Linked DNA regions of Homo sapiens: regions 1, 2 and 3 are each linked to region 4. The links are contacts of gene promoters, found by promoter capture Hi-C in blood cells and fetal thymus (Javierre and others, 2016). All regions are on one chromosome and are shown on one strand. Each heading gives the region's core, a stretch centred on a gene start or on the middle of the fragment in contact. The rest is flanking DNA. Distances are from core to core; before and after follow the strand shown.

Region 1 (4,979 bases), core at 513-3,012, 130 kb after region 4:
GAATGTAAGATGCCTACTGGAAAAATGATCTCAACTGGGAAATGGGTGGTTTCCACCCTAGAGAAAAGGCATAGGACTGTGGGGAGGTTGCCAGAGCATTTCCCAGAAGATGAAATGCAACCAGCCACTTAAGACCAGCAGCAACAAAGGAGGGCTTGAGGCTACAAGAGGCTTCCTTGGTGTTACTCTAGGTGCTAGAGAGTCACGGTAGCCATCTGAGGGATCCCAGGGCCTCAGACACATGCTTCCCATTTAGAGACAGTATTGCAGTGTGGTTAGTGGCAAGACTTTGGAGTCAGACTGCCTGGATTCAAATTCTGACCCTACCACTTACAAGTTTCATGGCCTTAAGCAAATTATTTGATCTATAATGCTTCAGTGTTCTCATCTGGAAAATGCAATTAATAAAATTAGCTACTCTCACAGGGCTGTAGTAACAATTATATTTTGATAATGCATGAAAAGCACCAAGCACAGTGCCTGGCACAAGGCAGTAAAATGTTAAGTATTCCGTATCATGAGGAAGATCTAAGTCTTGGATACACCAGCCCAGGTTTGTGACAGCCCTGAAGGAAGTAGAGACCCAGAGCAGAGGATTGAGTGCAGAAAGATTATGGATTAAAGATCCATAAAACTTACATATAATGGGGTAGAAATCTGTGAAAAAGAGCAATAATCTTTTCTCCATTTCTGTGAGATGCTCCCTGCCCAAAGCAGCACCACTTGCTCCCTTGGAGATCAGATAGCTTAGGTGCCACCACCTGCTCAGACTATCTTCTACCTACCTCCTAGGACCTACCTCTAGTCTCTGTTCCACGATGGAGAAAATCCGCTCCACCCCAATGCTGAGCCCCACACATGGCACCTTGCGCCCTTTGGGGTCGAACATGCCCACTAGCCCATCATAGCGTCCTCCAGCAGCCACACTGCCCACACCCAGGGGCTCTTCCCCTGCCTGGGCTGGGGTCTGTAGCAGCACTGCCTCATAGATCACCCCAGTGTAGTAATCCAGCCCTCGAGCAAGGCTCAGGTCAAAGGAGATCTGTGGAGATAAGAAAATGGTCAGTGCCAGATTAAGATCAGGGACCTGAAGCCCCAGAGCTCAGAAGGGATCCCGTCCCCAACTTGACTCACTTTGTCATCAATGCCAAATAGGGTCAGGTACTCAAAGAGCAACTTCAGGTCTCCCAGGCCCTCCAAGGCCTGCTTGTTTTGGGATAGTTTAGGATCCTGGAGCAGCTGTTCCACCAGGGATACCCCACCTGGGGAGACAGACTTGTGAGTGAGGCTGACAAGGAAACAAAAAAGGTAAGGAGGGTTGACCTTCTTGCCTGGACTCTAGTCGCCCATGCATGTGTGTGTACATATGCATAGACACACTCACTCCCCTACATACATAACACAGAACAGTTTCAACTTTAGGACTGAGGGCAGTGGGACGGCTGCTGGGGAGGCTTGGTTCTGTTCCTCACCATGTTGCTGGACATAGTCCCCAATGCGGTCAGCCACCTCAGGTGCAAGGCCCTTCTCTCCCACCATCTCATTCTTCACCTCTTCCCAGGACACCTAGGCAGACAGACACCAGTCAGGGACCCCTGGGCAGCTTCCGCACCACAGAGCAAGTGTGTACTGTCCTCGGGGAACCGTTTTAGAGCAGTAGCTGCCCATGAGCCTACATCCTGGGGCTAACCTTCCTCTGGTGGGTATAGAGGCATGCACCTCTCTCTCTCTCAATCTTGTTTTCCATTTCCCAAGGCAGGGTGGGATCTGGGAAAAGAAGTCAAGTACTTGGGTTGTTACCTTGTCCAGCTTGTCTACTGAGGAGCAGATGGTACGGAACTTGCTGTCAGAAACACCACAGATAGCAAACATCCCATCTAGAATGCGTCGATCGTTTACCTGCAAGGAACCAATGCATAGTGAGGGGGGAATCTCTTTTCTTACATGACCTGCAATAGTCATGGTCACTTAGGCTACTGGTCCCTCTGCACAAGGATCTTCTCTTGTGAGAGGCCAGGCCCAACTTTGCCCTCCCAGCCTTGTCAGCTCTGACCTTGACCAGGAAGTCGCCTATCTGAAGTGAACTCAGGATCTCGCACATGATCTTCAGGCACTCTGCATCAGGGATCATGGGATCAAAGTTCCCAGCAATGTCAAAATCCTGCAGGGAGAGGGTTAGCCAGCGGTCTTCAGGGATTCACCTTTCTGAAGGGGGGACTCTGGGAGCTCTGTCCTCTAGGAAGGCCTGGTTGCACTCAAGCATAGAATTTCTCTTTCATTTTCTGATCATCAGCCCAGAGGTAAACCCCGGCATCTTTGGGCTTCTCACCAGTTTTGGTTTCCTTTCCATCTACTGGGCTATTCCTTCATTTTCTACTTCATCATCTTCTTAACTCCTCCTACTGGATGGGGTGATTATATGGCTTTAGTGCTTAGCCATTTTCCCTATTCATCCAGAAGCCCTGGCATCAGTCTGGATGATTTGATGTATCAAAGCTAATTTCCTTATTCTCTGCTGTGATCCTATCACTGTGGTTTAAAATAAAGAGCACTGGACCAAGAGTTCTAGTCCTGACTTTGCCTTTCTTATCCCTATGATCTCTTCATGGGCTGGGTATCAAGTTTACTCATATGTAAAATGAAGAGACTTTATTCTCCTCCCCCACCACAGGGATTTTGTGAAATCTGCATGAAAACACCATAGAAGAGGCTGGGTGCGGTGGCTCACGCCTGTAATCCCAGCACTTTGGGAGGCCGAGGCAGGCGGATCATGAGACCAGGAGTTCGAGACCAGCCTGGCCAACATGGTAAAACCCCGTCTCTACTAAAAATACAAAAAATTAGCCGGGCATAGTGGCAGGCGCCTGTAATCCCAGCTACTCAGGTGGCTGAGGCAGAAGAATCGTTTGAACCCAGGAGGCAGAGGTTGCAGTGAGCCAAGACTGCACCACTGCACTCCAGCTTGGGCAACAGAGCGAGACTCCGTCTCAAAAAAACAAAAAACAAACAAAAAAACCACCATAGAAACCCTAAGAGCATTATCTGGGTCATCCAATTTGCTCAGGACACCGTGAGTACTCAATAGATTCTGCTGGCTTGAGAGAGCCCCAAGTAACTCATCCTGCCCCACGGTTTCCCAACACTCACACACTGGTAGAATTCCCGGTATCGGCCACGGGTCATGGCTGGGTTATCCCGCCGATATACCTTTGCTATGTGGTAGCGTTTAATGTTGGTCAGTTTATTCATTGCCAAATACCGAGCAAAAGGAACCTGATGACAAAGAGTTAAGGAGAAAGCCCCTCCTATCACTGTCTGCAAGTTGATTATCATCACCAACAGAAGCTGGGGTCTAACCCCTCCCTATGTGGGTAAAACTGCCACCCATAAGATTAATAGCACTTACAAACATCAGAAAGCATCAGCTGTGCTACCACATGAGGTAGCTGAAGGCTCAAAAAAGATTAAGGCACCTTTCCCTTTTGTAGTGTTGACTGGACTTTTTTGAGCATGGCAAGGGGCTGGGCAGGTTGGCCACAGACCAGAAAAAGGCGACCAGAAAAAGGCCCCCATATGGGATTTCTAAGCAGATGATTCTCTGTGTAGCTTGGAGACAAGGGAAATGTGTTGCTAGTCCATTAAGAAGAATTTTGTTCACTGGACAGGGCAGGGGAGAGGTATTCTGGAGCCAGGGGATGACTGTAGAGTTGGAACTGGGCCCTGACATCAAGCTGAGGTCTCACTCAGGATTCAGAAGATTTCTAAGGATGTGTATGCTCTGTTTAGCCAAAGTTCCACTCCTGGTTTAGAGAAATAATTCCCCTAATCGCCAAAGGCCTCATATTTGATCCTACCTACTCTACCATTCTTAAACCTGAGCCAAGTGAGTGCCAATCCATCCAAAGTCTCAAGAGCCCAAGTTTAGAAAGATACAGTGAGGTCATAGCGAAGGGACAGGAGCTCCCCGCCCTGGTCCTTCAGGTCATAGATAAGCTTGGAGTCTTCCCCATACTTTCCCATCAGTGTTTCCTGGAGAAAACATAAATAAATGTGGTCATAATAATAAACATAACAATTTAAAAGGAAGTTTTGAAAACAAACATGACTGATTCCAACTTGTCTACATTTCCCTCTGCTCTTTATCCCAATTCTTAGGTGTCTGATGTAGTTATCATTAAAAGGAAACACCAATTTTGTGTTTTTTTCTATTTTGATTTTGTAACAGAGCTGAAGTATTTTTCTTACACATTTTCCTCTTAAAAATCTTTTTTTTCTTCAGACTTCTCAGCATGAAGTTTGTTTTTTTTTTTTGAAATGGAGTCTCGCTCTGTCACCAGGCTGGAGTGCAGTGGCGTGATCTCGGCTCACTGCAACCTCTGACTCCGGGGTTCAAGAGATTCTCCTGCCTCAGCCTCCAGAGTGGCTGCGACTACAGGCGGGTGCCACCATGCCCGGCTAAGTTTTGTATTTTTAGTAGAGACAGGGTTTCACCATGTTGGCCAGGATAGTCTCGATCTCTTGACCTCGTGATCTGCCCGCTTCAGCCTCCCAAAGTACTGGGATTACAAGTGCGAGCCACAGCGCCCGGCCTGAAGTGTTTTTAAAAGATGCATAAATTCCAGTGAGAAGAAGCTCTGTACTTACTTCCTCCCTCATGTTATACTGTTAGGTGTTTAGGTTATTCTAATTTAAAAAAAAATTTTTTTAGGCCAGGCATAGCGGCTCACGCCTGTAATCCCAGCACTTTGGGAGGCCAAGGCGGATGGATCACCTGAGGTCAGGAGTTCGTGACCAGCCTGGCCAACATGGTGAAACCCTGTCTCTACTAAAAATACAAAATTAGCTGGGGGAGCTGGTAGGCATCTAATCCCAGCTATTCGGAGGCTTAGGCAGGAGAATCGCTTGAACCCGGGAGGCAGAGGGTGCAGTGAGCAGAGATCGCACCATTGCACTCCAGCCTGGGTGACGAGAGTGAAACT
Region 2 (4,648 bases), core at 443-2,942, 140 kb before region 4:
CCTCAGCCTCCCAAAGAGCTAGGTCTAACTAGAGGTGTACTCCACCACTCCACCTGATTTAAAAAAAAAAAAATGTTGCCCAGGCTAGTCTTGAACTCCTGGCCTCAAGGGATCCTTCTGCCTGGGCCTCCAAAAATGCAGAGATTACAAGTTGTAAGCCACTGTGCCTGACCGAAAAACCAATTTTTAAATTTTAATTTTAGAATTGTGGTCTTTTAATTTTTTTAGCAAATCGAAATAAAAATACAGTTTCTAAAGAAAAGATTGTGTGAGACATGGTTTTCAATTTTTGTCGTAAGAATGAATGTGTGTGTATATGTGTGTTTGTGTGTGTATGTGTGTGTGTGACGGCCCTCTTTTAAAATTATTACAAAAGTGGCCGGGCGCGGTGGCTCACGCCTGTAATCCCACCACTTTGGGAGGCCAAAGCGGATGGATCATCTGAGGTCAGGAGTTTGAGACCAGCCTGGCCAACATGGTGAAAGCCTGTCTCTACTAAAAATACAAAAATTAGCTGGGTATGGTGGCAGGCGCCTGTAATCCTAGCCACTTGGGAGGCTGAGGCAGGAGAATCTCTTGAACCCGGGAGACGGAGGCTGCAGTCAGCCAAGATCATACCAGTGCACTCCAGTCTGGGTAACAGAGCAAGACTCCATCTCAAAAAATTAGAAAATAATAAAATTATTACAAAATAGTTACTTGTTGAAAAACTCAACAATATAGATAGTAGGTATAAGGGGAAAAGTAAAAGTGCTTCTTCCCACCCCCATTAATTCTTCAAATTCTACCCTTCAAGGTAACCAATATTAAAATTTTTCATTCAGTAAATTTTCTAGGCCTATCTTTCTATGTATATATGTATATATGTTCATATACACATACTTTAAAGGCATATCAAATTTAAAAGTGTAGCTTTATATCACACTGAGGTTTTTTTCTTGAAGCAGGTGCTGTATTTACAATTATATAAAAGCACGCAGAAATTGTATTTAGCTCTGAAAATATAGCACAAGCTTTGTAGGGATTCCTTTTTCCCTGAAAATTACTTTTAACATCAAAAGCAAAAGTCATACAGAAATCCCATCCTGATTTTCTCCAGTAGGTAAGGAGTTGGGTCATATCCTTTAAGATTGTTTATGATCTATATATAATCTGTTTTTTAATTTTTAATTAAATTTTTTTTACCGTTATGTGTTTTGAGAGATGGGGGTCTCGCTTTTTTGCCCAGGCTGGCTGTTGCCCTGGCTACACAGTGCGGTGGCATGGTCATAACTCTATGTGGTCTCCCACTCCTGGGCTCAAGCAATCCTTCTGCTTCAGCCTCCCAAGTAGTCAGGACTACAGGGGACTATAGGTGTGCACCACAATACTTGGCTAGTATGATCTATAATCTAGAGCAGTTTCTCAAGAGCAACATATAGACATTTTGGGACAGAGAATTCTTTGTTGTGAGGGGCTCTCCTGTGCATTAGAAGCATCCCTGGCCTCTACCCACTAGATGCCAGTAGAACCCGATTATGATAGCCAAAAATTGTTCAGACGTTGCCAAATGTCTCCTAGGGACAAAATCACTCCTGGTTGAGAGCTACCGGTCTAGAGGCCACTCTTGTCAGGAATGGTAGTTTTGTTATACTCTGTATTCAAACTTAAGGTAAACAAGGTGAGTCACTGCTTTTAATAGCATTTCAGGACTTATGCTTATAACCTGAACAAGGGAGAAATAGAAGGTACTGAAAGGTTTAATATAAAACTAGCATGCACTGCTGTAAATTTTCTATGGTAAATGTATCATTTTGGGGAACTTTCACTTAAAATATATTATTTTTCAAAAAGTTCAGTTGTCCATGAAAATGAATTTTTAAAAAACTTTTATGGGGACTTCCAGTTTGTTCAAAGTAGAAATGCTTTATTCCATAAATTATCATTTGTAGTGATAACATAGGAAATATAACTTTGTATTCTAGTGGGCTAATTTTGGAGACTTTGGAAATGCTTATTGAATAAAAAGAATTATATGTTATTACTGTAACAATTTTTTTTTTTTTTTTTTGAGTCAGAGGAGCCTTGCTCTGTCACCCAGGCTGGAGTGCAGTGGCAGGATCTCGGCTCACTGCAGCCTCCACCTCCTGGGTTCAAGTGATTCTCCTGCCTCAGCCTCCTGAGTAGCTGGGACTACAGGCCCGTGCCACCACGCTCGGCTAATTTTTTGTATTTTTAGTAGAGACGGTGTTTCACTGTGTTACCCAGGATGGTCTCGGTCTCCTGACCTTGTGATCCACCCGCCTCAGCCTCCCAAAGTGCTGGGATTACAGGTGTGAGCCACCGCGCCCAGCCACAATTTTTTGTATGTTGCACAAATATCAACCTTTCACAAGCTTCATGATGTAAAGCCTTAAGACTTTACATATAAAATGATGCATTGATAAGTATATTTATGTGAATGGTGGGGTTGATGCAGAGTTGATTAGTATGGGTGGAGGAAAACTTTTTGGGAAACTTTAAGTATGAGAGGTTTTTGTTGTTATTAGTATATTTTCAATAGATAATTACATTCATATAGTTCATAAGTCAAAGTAATATAAGGGCAGATACAGTGAAGTCTCAATCTCACCCTGCTCCCACATATCTTGCTCTTTATACTTTTAATAAAAGTATTATATAGCCTTTCAGAATTTCTTTATGAAAATACAACTATGTGTATTTTCCCTACTGTTACACAGATGGTAAGATGCTATTTATGTGAAATTTTTAAATGGTAAATTTGAGAAGGATTTAGACTTTTTTAAAAAATTAAAGTGATAAATTATGTTATGAATGAAGGATGGAGGTGAGTTTAAGCACATTCCTTTCTGAGTCTATTTGTTAGTAGAGTGCTGATTGACTAGATGAATTCAAAATCAGTTCTGGCCTTCTGATTCAGTGATCACTAATATAAATAAAATATGTTACTTTAAAGAAAAGCAAAACAGTTTTAAACAGTTTTAGCCTTGAATTGGCAAGTAAACAAAATAAATGACAAGTTTACCAAATTTTTTTTTTTGGCCAAATTTACTTTCTCAGAACTAAAGTTGTAATAAATAAAATCAATTCTTTTTTTAAACCCACTATAAAGGAACTGTTTCAATGTATCTGTCTTCACAGACCTTATTGATCACATTTCCCTCTCCTATTGCTTGTCTATAGAGTCATAGAATCTTGGTGATAATCCTATCTCATCTCATTTTTAGGTAACTGCTACCATTTATTGAATGCTTATTATATACCAGTACCGTACTAGATACTTTCGTTATTTTATTTAATCGTTTCATCACCCCTTTGAGGTAGGTATTATCTACATTTTTATAGATGAATAAGTGTAGGCTCAGAGAGTTTTTAGAGTAATGAATCTAAAAAACAAAAAAATGGTTAAAATGTTATATGGCTAGTGACTGGTAAAGGTGGGATTTGAATGTGATACTGAATTTAGAGCCCATACTGTTATTTTGCTTCAAATTAAGAAATATGTAGTTTTTGGTTACCAAATGCTGTTTTTTAAATAAATCATTGTTTAGTTCCTATTGAAGTTTTCACAGATGTAAAGTAAAATGGAGAAAATAAGCAGGATGTAGTGAATTTCTAATGAAGCTATTTTTTCCCACTTTTTTCTATTTTGACAAATACTCTTCCTACTTTTACAAAATGAATTTTTAAAACTATCTGTACTTAACAGAATATCAACTGGAAACTTCATTTGGGACCCTGGATAAAAGCCTCAGAAGTCTGGGAACTGTTGAGCTAAATGACTTGCCCAGATCACACAGTTAATATGTAGCAGTCAAGACTGAAAAATAGGCCATCTGATTCCCATTCTAGTTATCCTACCTTCCAGATTCTCCTAACTTTCTTTTGATGCATTATATTAATGAGTTTAATTAGTTGCTTATAAATGCCTCTTTCAAACTATTATAGTTTATAATCCATAGTTGATCTTGTTGGAAAAGTTTTTTTTTTTTTTTGGCTGTTTTTTTTTTGGTTTGTTTGAGAACGGAGTCTCACTCTGTTGCCCAGGCTGGAGTGTAATGGTGCAATCTTGGCTCACTGCAACCTCTGCCTCCCGAGTTCAAGCAATTCTCCTGCCTCAGCCTCCTGAGTAGCTGGGATTATAGGCGGCCACCACCATACCCAGCTAATTTTTTTTTGTATTTTTAGTAGAGATGGGGTTTCACCATGTTGGCCAGGCTGGTCTCGAACTCCTGACCTCAGACTATCTGCCCACCTCAGCCTCCCAAAGTGCTGGGATTATAGGCTTGAGCCACTGTGCCTGGCCTTTTTTTAAATTTTTTTTTTTTTGAGACAGGGTCCCGTTATGTCACCCAAGCTGGAGTGCGGTGGTGCAGGAGTGCAGTGGCTCACGATCGTATGGCGCAATCACGGCTCAGGCAGCCTTGACCTTCTGGGCTCAAGCGATCCTCCCCTTTCAGCCTCCCAAGTGTCTGGGACCACAGGCGCACACCACCGTACCCTGCTAATTTTTAAATTAAATTTAATTAATTAATTTTTTCCGACACACAGTCTTAGTTGCCCAGGCTGGAGTGCAGTGGCGGATCTCAGCTCACTGCAACCTCCGCCTCCTGGGTTCAGGCAATTCTCCTGCCTTAGCCTCCCAAGT
Region 3 (4,852 bases), core at 2,353-4,852, 150 kb before region 4:
GTGTGTATGTCAAAGTATAAGTGAAATATTTCTTCCCTAAGTTCACATTTCTCTGAGTTAAATGTAACTCCCTAGATTTTGCCCAAAAAAGTACATTCTAACTTTTTTAAATTTTATTTTTCTTCTTAATTTGTTGGATAAACACACTAATAATAACAATAAAGATTTTCAAAAACAAAAAAAATCTACTAACTCTCTAAAGTTTGGTTTTAAGGTAATAACTGGGGTGGTTTTGGAAAATAGTTTTGTTACCAAGGTGTTACATACTCATTGTAAACAAATTCAAACAATATATGCACAAATAAAATGATATACTTCTAGTAAAAAACTGAAATAATTTCACTTTTTCCCTCACTTGGCAGTGTACCATGCACAATCAGCCTTCTGATTTTCTTCTTTTTTTTTTTTTTTTGAGATAGAGTCTTGCTCTGTCGTCAGGCTGGAGTGCAGTGGCGTGATTTTGGCTCATTGCATCCTCCGCCTCCTGGGTTCAGGCTATTCCCCTGCCTCAGCCTTCCAAGTAGTTGGGACTACAGGCGCGAGCCACCACGGCCAGCTAATTTTTTGTGTTTTAGTAGAGACAGGGTTTCACCATGTTGGTCAGGATGGTCTCAATCTCCTGACCTCGTGATCTGCCCACCTCAGCCTCTCAAAGTGCTGGGGTTACAGGCGTGAGCCACTGTGCCTGGCCTCTTCATTCTTTTTAACAAGTATATTGTAGGTCATGTTATAACTGTACCGCAGCTTACTTAGCCACTTATTGATAGACAAGTAAGGTTTGTCTGTTTTGAGACAGAGTCTCACTCTTTTGTCCAAGCTGGAGTGCAGTGGCATGATCTTGCACACTGCAACCTCCGTTTCCCAGCTTCAAGTGATTCTCGTGCCTCAGTCTCCTGAGAAGCTGGGACTACAGGTGTGCACCAACCCCCTGGCTAATGTTTTTTCTTTTTTTTTGAGACAGTCTCGCTCTGTCACCGAGGTTGGAGTGCAGCGGTGTGATCTCAGCTCACTGCAACCTTTGCTCCAAGGTTCAAGCGATTCTCCTGCCTCAGCCTCCCGAGTAGCTGGGATTACAGGCATCTGCCACCATGCCTGGCTAATTTTTGTATTTTTTAGTAGAGACGAAGTTTCGCCATGTTGGTCAGGCTGGTCTCAAACTCCTGACCTCAAGTGATCCACCCATCTTGGCCTCCCAAAGTGCTGGGATTACAGGTGTGAGCCACCCTGTCTGGCTTTTTTTTTTTTTTTTTTAAGTAGAGATAGGGTTTCACCATGTGGCCAGGCTGGTCTTGAACTCCTGACCTCAAATGATCCGTCTGCCTCAGTCTCCCAAAGTGCTGGGATTATAGGAGTGAGCCACCGTGCCTAGCCCTGACAAGTAAGGTTTTAATTAATGTCCCTGTACACATTTTTTTTTTTTTTTTTTAGTTAATGTGTGAGGGTTTCTGTGCCACTTTTCCTCCAGAGTTGGAAATGGATTTGCTAAATCAAAGGGTAGTTGCACTTAAAAAAAAAAAAAAAAAAAAAAAAGAAGGACCGGGCACATGGCTCACGCCTGTAAACCCAGCACTTTGGGAGGCTGAGGTGGGTGGATCACTTGAGGTCAGAATTTCCAGGCCAGACTGGCAAACATGGTGAAACCCCATCTCTACTAAAAATACAAAAATTAGCCGAGTGTGGTGGCATATGTCTGTAATCCCAGCTACTTGGGAGGCTGAGGCAGAAGAATTGCTTGAACCCAGAAGACGGAGGTTGCAGTGAGTTGAGATCACACCACTGTACTCCAGCCTGGGCGACAGAGACTCTGTTTCAAAAAAATAAAATGAAGGCACCTCCAAACTTATTTCCCTAAAGATTGTATCAATTACACTACTGCTAATGGTATACAGAGAGTGCAACAGGGAACTTGTGAGAGTAATTGTTGGGCATGAGGATTACCAGGCTCTGAATAGTGGTCAACCAGTGCTTTGAAGGGTTTTTAAATATTTCTGAGCCCTTCAGTCACTCTCCAGGAATTCTAATATTCATTTGAAATCCCTGGTATACAGAAAAGTATTGCTGTTTTCTTTGGACTCTCTAGTATGGCTCAATCTTGATTTAAAATGTTGCCAGCTTATGGGTGGAGCCATTGGGACAGTTTAGGGCTTTAACCAAACTCCAGAGGCCACAACAGGCCTGCCCATATGTCCTGCATAACTCTGAATGGTGATGCAATTCTTTTCAACTGACGAACCTTTTGCATTGACTAAATCTCTGCTGGAGAAGTCCAACTTTGGCTGTTTTTCTTTTCTTTTTTTTTCCCTTGACATCAGAGGTGTAAATGCCAGGGTCTAAGAAGGGCTTCTAGGTGAAAAGCTTCAGAGTAGAGTCCTGACCACTATATTTCTTAATAGCTTCTGTGAGCTTATATCAGACTCATGTCTGGCCTAGACTTTCTACAAGTGTCCTTTCGGGGCCATAGCCACTTCCTTGGGAAAGAACACTTGGTAGGTGGCACTGTTACCTGCCCTGCAGGTGAATGCCATGCTGTGTCTCCTGATTTATGGGACTGTCTTGATGAAAAAGGGGTGTGGCAAACTGAGTTGAGTTCAAACACTCCACAAGAGTCTCCAAGATCAGCCTTCAGAGTGACTCAGTCCTCACTTATAAGCCCAAATTGCTCTTTGAGTTGGAGTCCTTGGTCTGCTCCTTTCTCATTGTGGTAAGCAATTATGTACTTCAGGTTCTCACAGGAAATATCAGAGGGTAATGGATGGGTCATGTAAAATCACTTCAGAGATTTTATTGGGAGATACTGATCCTAATGCTCACTCCTTGTTACTCCTCTATTTAAAAAAAATTGTAAGGCTGGGCATGGTGGCTCACACCTGTAATCCCAGCACTTTGGGAGGCCGAGGCGGGCGGATCACCTGAGGTCAGGAGTTCAAGACCAGCCTGGCCAACATGGTGAAACCCCATCTCTACTAAAAATACAAAATTAGCTGGGCATGGTGACACACGCCTGTAATCCCAGCTACTTGGGAGGCTGAGGCAGGAGAATCGCTTGAACTTGGGAGGTGGAGGTTGCAGTGAGTTGAGATCATCCCATTGGACTCCAGCCTGGGCAAGAAGAGCGAAACTCCATCTCAAAAAAAAAAAAAGGCGGGGCGGGGGGATTGTGAAAAACTAAAACACCCCTCAAGGGTTCTTCTGACTCAAAAGTGCTGATTCACTAAATGCCAGGCCACCATAACCTGTAAAATAAGAGGATTCTTGCTGCTGCGGTTGCTATCTAGCTGTTCTCTCATCAGAAAAAGTGCTCAGACCATAAGATTCAAAATTTTCACCAATTCTGGGATGTTCTAAAGTCTGTGGCAGAAGGACATGGTACCAGCCAAGGAGAGCTTCTACAAAAGGTGGGTGTGGCTGCCTAAGTTGCAGTGGTAAGAGGACATGTGAAAAAGGATGTTTGGGGTCACTAGCTTCAGGTTTACCAAGTGTGGGATAGAAGAAGCAGAGGGTTCACTGTAATGCACAAGGTAGAGTTCTGGATTTCTCCCAGTAACTTATTGATTGTCAGTTCTTAGAACCCTCTTCTTGTCAAAGAGCTTGTATAACTGTAGACCAGAACATCTGGGCTGAACTACACACTTACTGGTACTTATTTCTCAATGTGACTCTTGGTTTTTCCTTTTTTTTTAGATGGAGTCTCACTCTGCCACTCAGGCTGGAGTGCACTGGTGCAATCTCGGCTCACTGCAACCTCTGCCTCCCAGGTTCAAGCGATTCTTCTGCCTCAGCCTCTTGAATAGCTGGGACTATGGGCACCTGCCATCACGCCCGGCTAATTTTTGTATTTTTAGTAGAGACGGGGTTTCTCCATGTTGGCCAGGCTGGTCTTGAACTCCTGACCTTGTGATCCGCCTGTCTCAGCCTCCCAAAGTGTTGGGATTATGGGTGTAAGCCACTGTGCTGGACGGCTTTTCCTTTTAATTAGTACTGAAGTGAGAAAGCTCATAGAATTACTGCTGGGACTCATATTTTCAGTACAATCCTTCCAATGGAAGCAATACACAAAAATATTCACCAAGGACTCACCTGGGGGAAGAGTGGATTAATCTTCATTGTCAACCAATATGACCTTTCTGCAGAGAGATGTTTAACTTTTGCAAAAAGCAAAGCTACAACTTGATGTCTTTTAAAAATTTGGGCCAGGTGTGGTGGCTCACATCTATAATCCCAGCACTTTGGGAGACTGAGGCAGGTGGATCGCTTGAGCCCAGGAGTTTGAGAGCAGCCTGGGTAACATGGCAAAAACCCTGTCTCTACCAAAATACAAAAAAACACAACAAAACAAAACAAAACAAGCTGGGCATGGTGGTGTGCACCTGTAGTTCCAGCTACTTGGAAGGTTGAGGTGGGAGGGTGGCTTGAGCCTGGGAGGTTGAGGCTGTAGTGAGACTGCACCACTGCACTACTCCAACCTAGGTAACAGGAGCAAGACCCTGTCAAAAAAAAAAAAAGTTTTCAGTTACAGAGTTACAGTAAATCTAACTGTGTTTCTGTCCAGTTGAAGGTTTGGAGGTTTCTGGCTGACTCAGCAAGTAATGTTCTACCTAGGTGAAGTTCTTCTCATTGCTGTCTGAAACCAAACACATAAAGTAAATCCATCATGTTTAGCTTTGTTGTTGTTTTGGGTTTTTTTTGTTTGTTTTGTTTTTTTTTGAGATGGAGTCTCGCTCTGTCACCCAGGCTGCAGTGCAGTGGTGTGATCTCGGCTCACTGCAGTCTCTTGCCTCCCAGGTTCAAGCGATTCTCCTGCCTCAGCCTCCCAAGTAGCTGGGATTATAGCACCCACCACCATGCCTGGCTA
Region 4 (4,918 bases), core at 1,973-4,472:
GGCTCAAGCGGTCCTCCCACCTCAGCCTCCCAAAATGCCAGAATTAACAGATGTGAGCTACCGATCCTAGCCCATCCCCACACTCTTGAATTTCACACCACCCAAATTTGAGCCACTAACTCAGAGTTCTCCCCATGGCTTCACTATATCTAGCTTCCTCCTGTGCTCCATCTGAACACATATTATTCATTCCCTCATATAAGATATGCTGCTCTTCTTGTTTTCCCTATCATATTAGTTGGTGCTACTAGCCACCAAGACTCTCAAGCCAAAAGACTGAAAATTATCCTAGTTTACACTTTCCCTCACCCCACTCTTAATCAGTCACTTTATTCTTCCTCTGTGTATCTGAATCTCATCCACTTCTCTCCATCCTCACAGCCATCGCCCGTTTGCCCACCTGGTTTCACTAGACTGGACTCTACCCTCAAATCTCACCATCCTCCACCCTATTCTCCCATTCCCCCTGTCAGACACTTCCTCACGTTGCATAAAAGGTTAGTTATCATAAATGATTCACTACAATCTGTTCCCAAGCTTTACCCTCCAGCACTGCTAAGACACTTCATTTTGGCATGCACCATTTTGTAAGATACTCAAAATCCTTTTCGGGACAATAAAATATACATACCCTTGATACCTGAAGTGTGTTTCTGAGGCCCTGAAGCGTTTGCATTACTGTATTAAAAACTCACAGTTGCAGTCAGGCCCGGTGGCTCATGCCTGTAACTCCAGCACTTTGGGAGGCCAAGCCAGGCAGATCACTGGAGATCAGGAGTTCGAGACCAGCTTGGCCAAGATAGTGAAACCTGATGTCTGCTAAAAATACAAAAAATTAGCCCGGTGCGGTGGTGGGTTCCTGTAATTCCAGCTACTCAGGAGGCTGAGGCAGGAGAATCGCTTGAACCCAGGAGGCAGAGGTTGCAGTGAGCTGAGATCATGCCACTGAACTCTAGCCTGGGTGACAGAGCAAGACTCCATCTTAAAAAAAAAAAAAAACCAGCCAGGTGTGGTGGCTTATGCCTGTAATCGTAGCACTTTGGGAGGCCGAGGCAGGCTGATCACCTGAGGTCGGGAGTTCAAGACCAGCCTGACCAACATGGAGAAACTCTGTTTCTACTAAAATTACAAAATTAGCTGGGTGTGGTGGTACATGCCTGTAATCCCAACTACTCAGGAGGCTGAGGCAGGAGAATCGCTTAAACCCGGGAATCGGAGGTTGCGGTGAGCCAAGATCATGCCATTTGGGCGGCAAGAGCGAAACTCCATCTCAAAAAAAAAAAAAAAAAATCCACAACTGGCTGGGCACGGTGGCTCATGCCTGTAATTCTTGTTTCGGAGGATGCCTGTTTGGGAGGATCGCTTGGGCCCACAAGTTTGAGACCAGCCTGGGCAACATAGTGAGACCCCGCCTTTACAAAAAATTTAAAAATTAGCCAGGTACAGTGGCATGCACCTGTGGTCCCAGCTATTGAGGACACTGAAGTGGGAGGGTCACCTGAGCCCAGGAGGTTGAGGCTGCAGTGAGCCATGATTGTACCACTACACTCCAGCTTGGGTGACAGTGAGACCCTGTGTCAAAAAAAAAAAAAAATCCAAAATCTCACCCAGACCAATACTGTATCAGAATTATCATTTTAACAATATCTCCAGATGATTTATATGCACATTAAAGTTTGAGAAGCTGGCCAGGTGTGGTGGCTCACACCAGCACTTTGGGAGGCCGAGGCAGATAGGTTACTTGAGCTCAGGAATTCGAGACCAGCCTGGGCAACATGGTGAAACCTTGTCTCTATAAAAAATCCAAAAATTAGCCCGGTGTGGTGGTGGGCACCTGTGGTCCCAGCTACTCAGGAGGCTGAGGTGGGAGGATGGCCTGAACCCAGGAGGCAGAGTTTGCATTGAGCTGAGATTACACCACTGCATTCCAGCCTAGGCAGCAGAGCAAAACCCTATCTCAGAAAATAAATAGTTTGAGAAGCAATCTTTTTTTAAATGAGTGAAGAAATCAGACCTAAGGAGAAATCTGATGAAGCCAGAGCTGAGTTAATATTGATAAATGGATGCAGTCAGGTGGTCTATACTTAATTTTTGGTGAGGGGAAGGGACAGTGGAGGCAGTATTGATTTTGAGGAAGCCAAACAGGACAGCCTGATGAATTCAAGATTTCCAGCATATATACATCTTCACCAATCCCACCACCTTGCTCCAGCCTGTCATATCACTGTGTCTACATAAAAAAAAAAAACAAAAAAAAAACTCCAAGGCCAAACTCTCTGACCTTTCTTTCCTTCTAAAGACCAAGCCCTCCTCACTAGCCCCCTGCCCCTCCTTAGTTAACTGGCAAAGAGATCAAAGGGCAGGCCTTCTGACTGGTGATGCCTCAGCTGTAGCCCCCAAACTTGACTCATCCTTTTATTAGTCCAGGTACCACTTCTTCAGAAAGATGACCAGCCCTCACTGACCTTCCCCTTCCTGCTGTGCTCCAGGCCATCAAGGCATGTGTCACCCAGGCTGGAGTGCAGTGGTGCAATCTCCGCTCACTGCAACCTCCGCCTCCTGGGTTCAACCTATCCTTCCACCTCAGCTTCCCGAGTAGCTGGGTCTACAGGCGCATGCTGCCGCACCCGGCTAATTTTTGTATTTTTAGTAGAGTCTAGGTTTCACCATGTTGCCCAGGCTGGTCTCAGACTCCTGGGCTCAAGCTATCCACCCGCCTTAGCCTCCCAAAGTGCTGGGATTACAGGCCGTGAGCCACCGCACCCGGCCTTGTACTGTTACTGTTTATGGGAGGCAGTACACAGCTGGGCTTAAGGGCACAGTCCTGGAATCAGATGCAGTCAGATTTGAATCCCAGCTTCCCTTCCTGCAAGATGTGTGACTTTGGCTAATCATAGTGCTTTACTATCCAAAAGTTGGCAAGGAATGGGTGAACTAATACAGGATAAAAACGCTTGCCCTACTTCACCTGCCCCCAGCTCCCGGCTATAAACAGTAAATAGCTGAGCTGCTGCAGCACTCAGGCAGGTTGGCCAGCGCTGGGCCAGCAGGAACTGGAAGCTGGTGTGGGGCCTGGGACTTTGGACGCATTTCCAGCTTTCTCTGAACCGGGCTGGCTTCCTAGCAGATAGGGCGGGACCGTCGGGTTGAGTGACGGCCGGTGGCCCGCCCTGGGCGTGACGTTGTTCTAGTGTTGTTGCCAGCAGCTGCACGTGGTCGGCTGAGTCCGCCTCAGACTCAGAGCTGCGCTCCTCGACCTCAACGCCAGGCGGTTACTTTGCTGCTCCTCCCGCTCGCTATGTCAACGTCCACTAGCTGCCCGATTCCCGGGGGCCGGGACCAGCTGCCCGACTGCTACAGCACCACGCCGGGGGGCACGCTATACGCCACTACCCCCGGAGGTCAGCGGGCCGGGCAGGGGTCCGCAGGCTGCGGACATATTAGCGCGTGCGTGTTGTTGCGGGGCGGGGGTAGGGGAGGGACAGACCTAAGACTTGTCCGCAGGCCCCTCTACAGGTTGTAGCTTTGGGGGAGAATGTTTGGAGCGGAAGCTCAGTTCCCAAAAACTTCTAAGTGATGCAACAAGGCCATGAGCCTAGCTTCCGGGTGTTTGGGCTGTAATCCTTCACTGTGGCCTGGGTTCTTGGAGCCTTACACACGCTCCTTACCCCTCGCGACTTTGCTTCCTAGGAATAGGGGCCAGGGCCCCCTACTGAGCGTGACCTCAGCCGGAAGCACCGGGTCTTGAGAAGTGGAGTAGTTAGAACAGTTGGGGCAGTTGCTCCGTTTTTGTGCTGCTGGCTGGCGTCTGTTTGGTTGGGCGAGCAGCCTGGGATCACGAGCTGCTGGGCTCCCGACCCAGGGATTCCTGCCACGCGGAAGCGGAGGGGAGGAACAGGGCAGGACCCTTTGAGGACATTATGCGGGCCAAGTTCCTCTGAGCTAGTGTGAACCTTATAGGACCTGGGAGGGGTCAGGATTAGAACAGTACGTTTCTCCTCCCTGCAGGAGATAGCCCAGGTAACAGCACTGGGTGGAACCCTTCACAACTGCTATTTCACTTCTTGAACCACCTGAGGCTGTTAGTCTAGGTCTCACCTTCACTGGTGAGACCAAAGCAGAGGTTTCAGAGTGGTAGAGGAGCAGCATGAAGTACCTGAACTCAAAGTTTGGTGTTCCTCTTAGAGCCAAGATCTGAAGCTCTCCCAAACATAAAGCCCCTGCCTATACCAGCTGGGATGCCCCCCTTGCTTTATACCCACATCTTGGTTAGGTCTGGAAGATTTTAAGCACTATGAAGGCTTGTCTGCTGAGAACCTAGCTGGGCTTCAGAGCCGATGTCCTTTGATACACAGGGAAATTTGACACCACCCTCACCTCCAGGCCCCAAAAGGCCTGAGTCTGGGACCCCAGTCACCTCGGTACCCAAGCTCCTGACTCTTACCTCAGTCCCAACCCCTTGACAGGCACCAGGATCATCTACGACCGAAAGTTCCTGCTGGAGTGCAAGAACTCACCCATTGCCCGGACACCCCCCTGCTGCCTCCCTCAGATTCCCGGGGTCACAACTCCTCCAACAGCCCCTCTCTCCAAGCTGGAGGAGCTGAAGGAGCAGGAGACAGAGGAAGAGATACCCGGTAAGGAAAGCAGGAATTAAGAATTGTCCCAGCCTTTGAGTTCAAATGCCACTGTGACACAGTGCGGGGGTTCAGTTCCAAGAGGGGTTTCTGCACTGATGCTGAGCCTGCAGATCCTCAGACCAGCAACCTGTCTTCCTGCCTTTTCTCTCTCCAGATGACGCACAATTTGAAATGGACATCTAATCCAGTGCAGATGACCTGGCATGTGGAGTTACAGAGGGATCCCTCATGCCACTGCTGCCACCACCTCTTCCTGGGGCATCCAAAGGCCAGCTGGC

The links. The method cuts DNA at HindIII sites, captures the fragments that hold promoters and counts their contacts. A CHiCAGO score of 5 or more calls a contact.
Region 1: a fragment that was not itself captured here is called in contact with the fragment with the promoter of EIF4EBP3 in region 4 in 16 of 17 cell types (total CD8 T cells, M2 macrophages, M1 macrophages and 13 more); the score reaches 9.0 in total CD8 T cells.
Region 2: a contact is called between a fragment that was not itself captured here and the fragment with the promoter of EIF4EBP3 in region 4, in 1 of 17 cell types (naive CD4 T cells). The highest score is 5.1, in naive CD4 T cells.
Region 3: a fragment that was not itself captured here is called in contact with the fragment with the promoter of EIF4EBP3 in region 4 in 1 of 17 cell types (endothelial precursors); the score reaches 5.7 in endothelial precursors.

Annotation. Positions count from the first base shown.
Region 1 is chr5:140,675,855-140,680,833 of GRCh38, forward strand. HARS1 (histidyl-tRNA synthetase 1) reads right to left here. Exons shown (of 13, transcript NM_002109.6): 4 at 3,934-4,029; 5 at 3,148-3,273; 6 at 2,054-2,161; 7 at 1,801-1,899; 8 at 1,473-1,566; 9 at 1,135-1,262; 10 at 800-1,042. Among named protein-coding and RNA genes, the nearest start is that of DND1, 4.8 kb to the left of the region's middle. RefSeq lists an enhancer at 2,201-2,450. The HindIII fragment of the contact is 4,458 bases long and covers 1-3,991 here.
Region 2 is chr5:140,407,518-140,412,165 of GRCh38, forward strand. All of the region lies in intron 1 of ANKHD1-EIF4EBP3 (ANKHD1-EIF4EBP3 readthrough), which reads left to right. All of the region lies in intron 1 of ANKHD1 (ankyrin repeat and KH domain containing 1), which reads left to right. Among named protein-coding and RNA genes, the nearest start is that of ANKHD1-EIF4EBP3, 8.0 kb to the left of the region's middle. The HindIII fragment of the contact is 1,362 bases long and covers 1,012-2,373 here.
Region 3 is chr5:140,389,365-140,394,216 of GRCh38, forward strand. The region is part of intron 1 of ANKHD1-DT (ANKHD1 divergent transcript); the gene reads right to left. Among named protein-coding and RNA genes, the nearest start is that of ANKHD1-DT, 9.6 kb to the right of the region's middle. The HindIII fragment of the contact is 2,499 bases long and covers 2,354-4,852 here.
Region 4 is chr5:140,544,440-140,549,357 of GRCh38, forward strand. EIF4EBP3 (eukaryotic translation initiation factor 4E binding protein 3) reads left to right here and starts at 3,223. Exons shown (of 3, transcript NM_003732.3): 1 at 3,223-3,401; 2 at 4,467-4,637; 3 at 4,795-4,918. The coding sequence starts at 3,299. The coding sequence ends at 4,823. It overlaps ANKHD1-EIF4EBP3 (ANKHD1-EIF4EBP3 readthrough), which reads left to right. Exons shown (of 36, transcript NM_020690.6): 35 at 4,467-4,637; 36 at 4,795-4,918. The coding sequence ends at 4,798. RefSeq lists enhancers at 2,170-2,878, 2,879-3,585, 3,346-3,435, 3,586-4,293. The HindIII fragment of the contact is 7,257 bases long and covers 536-4,918 here.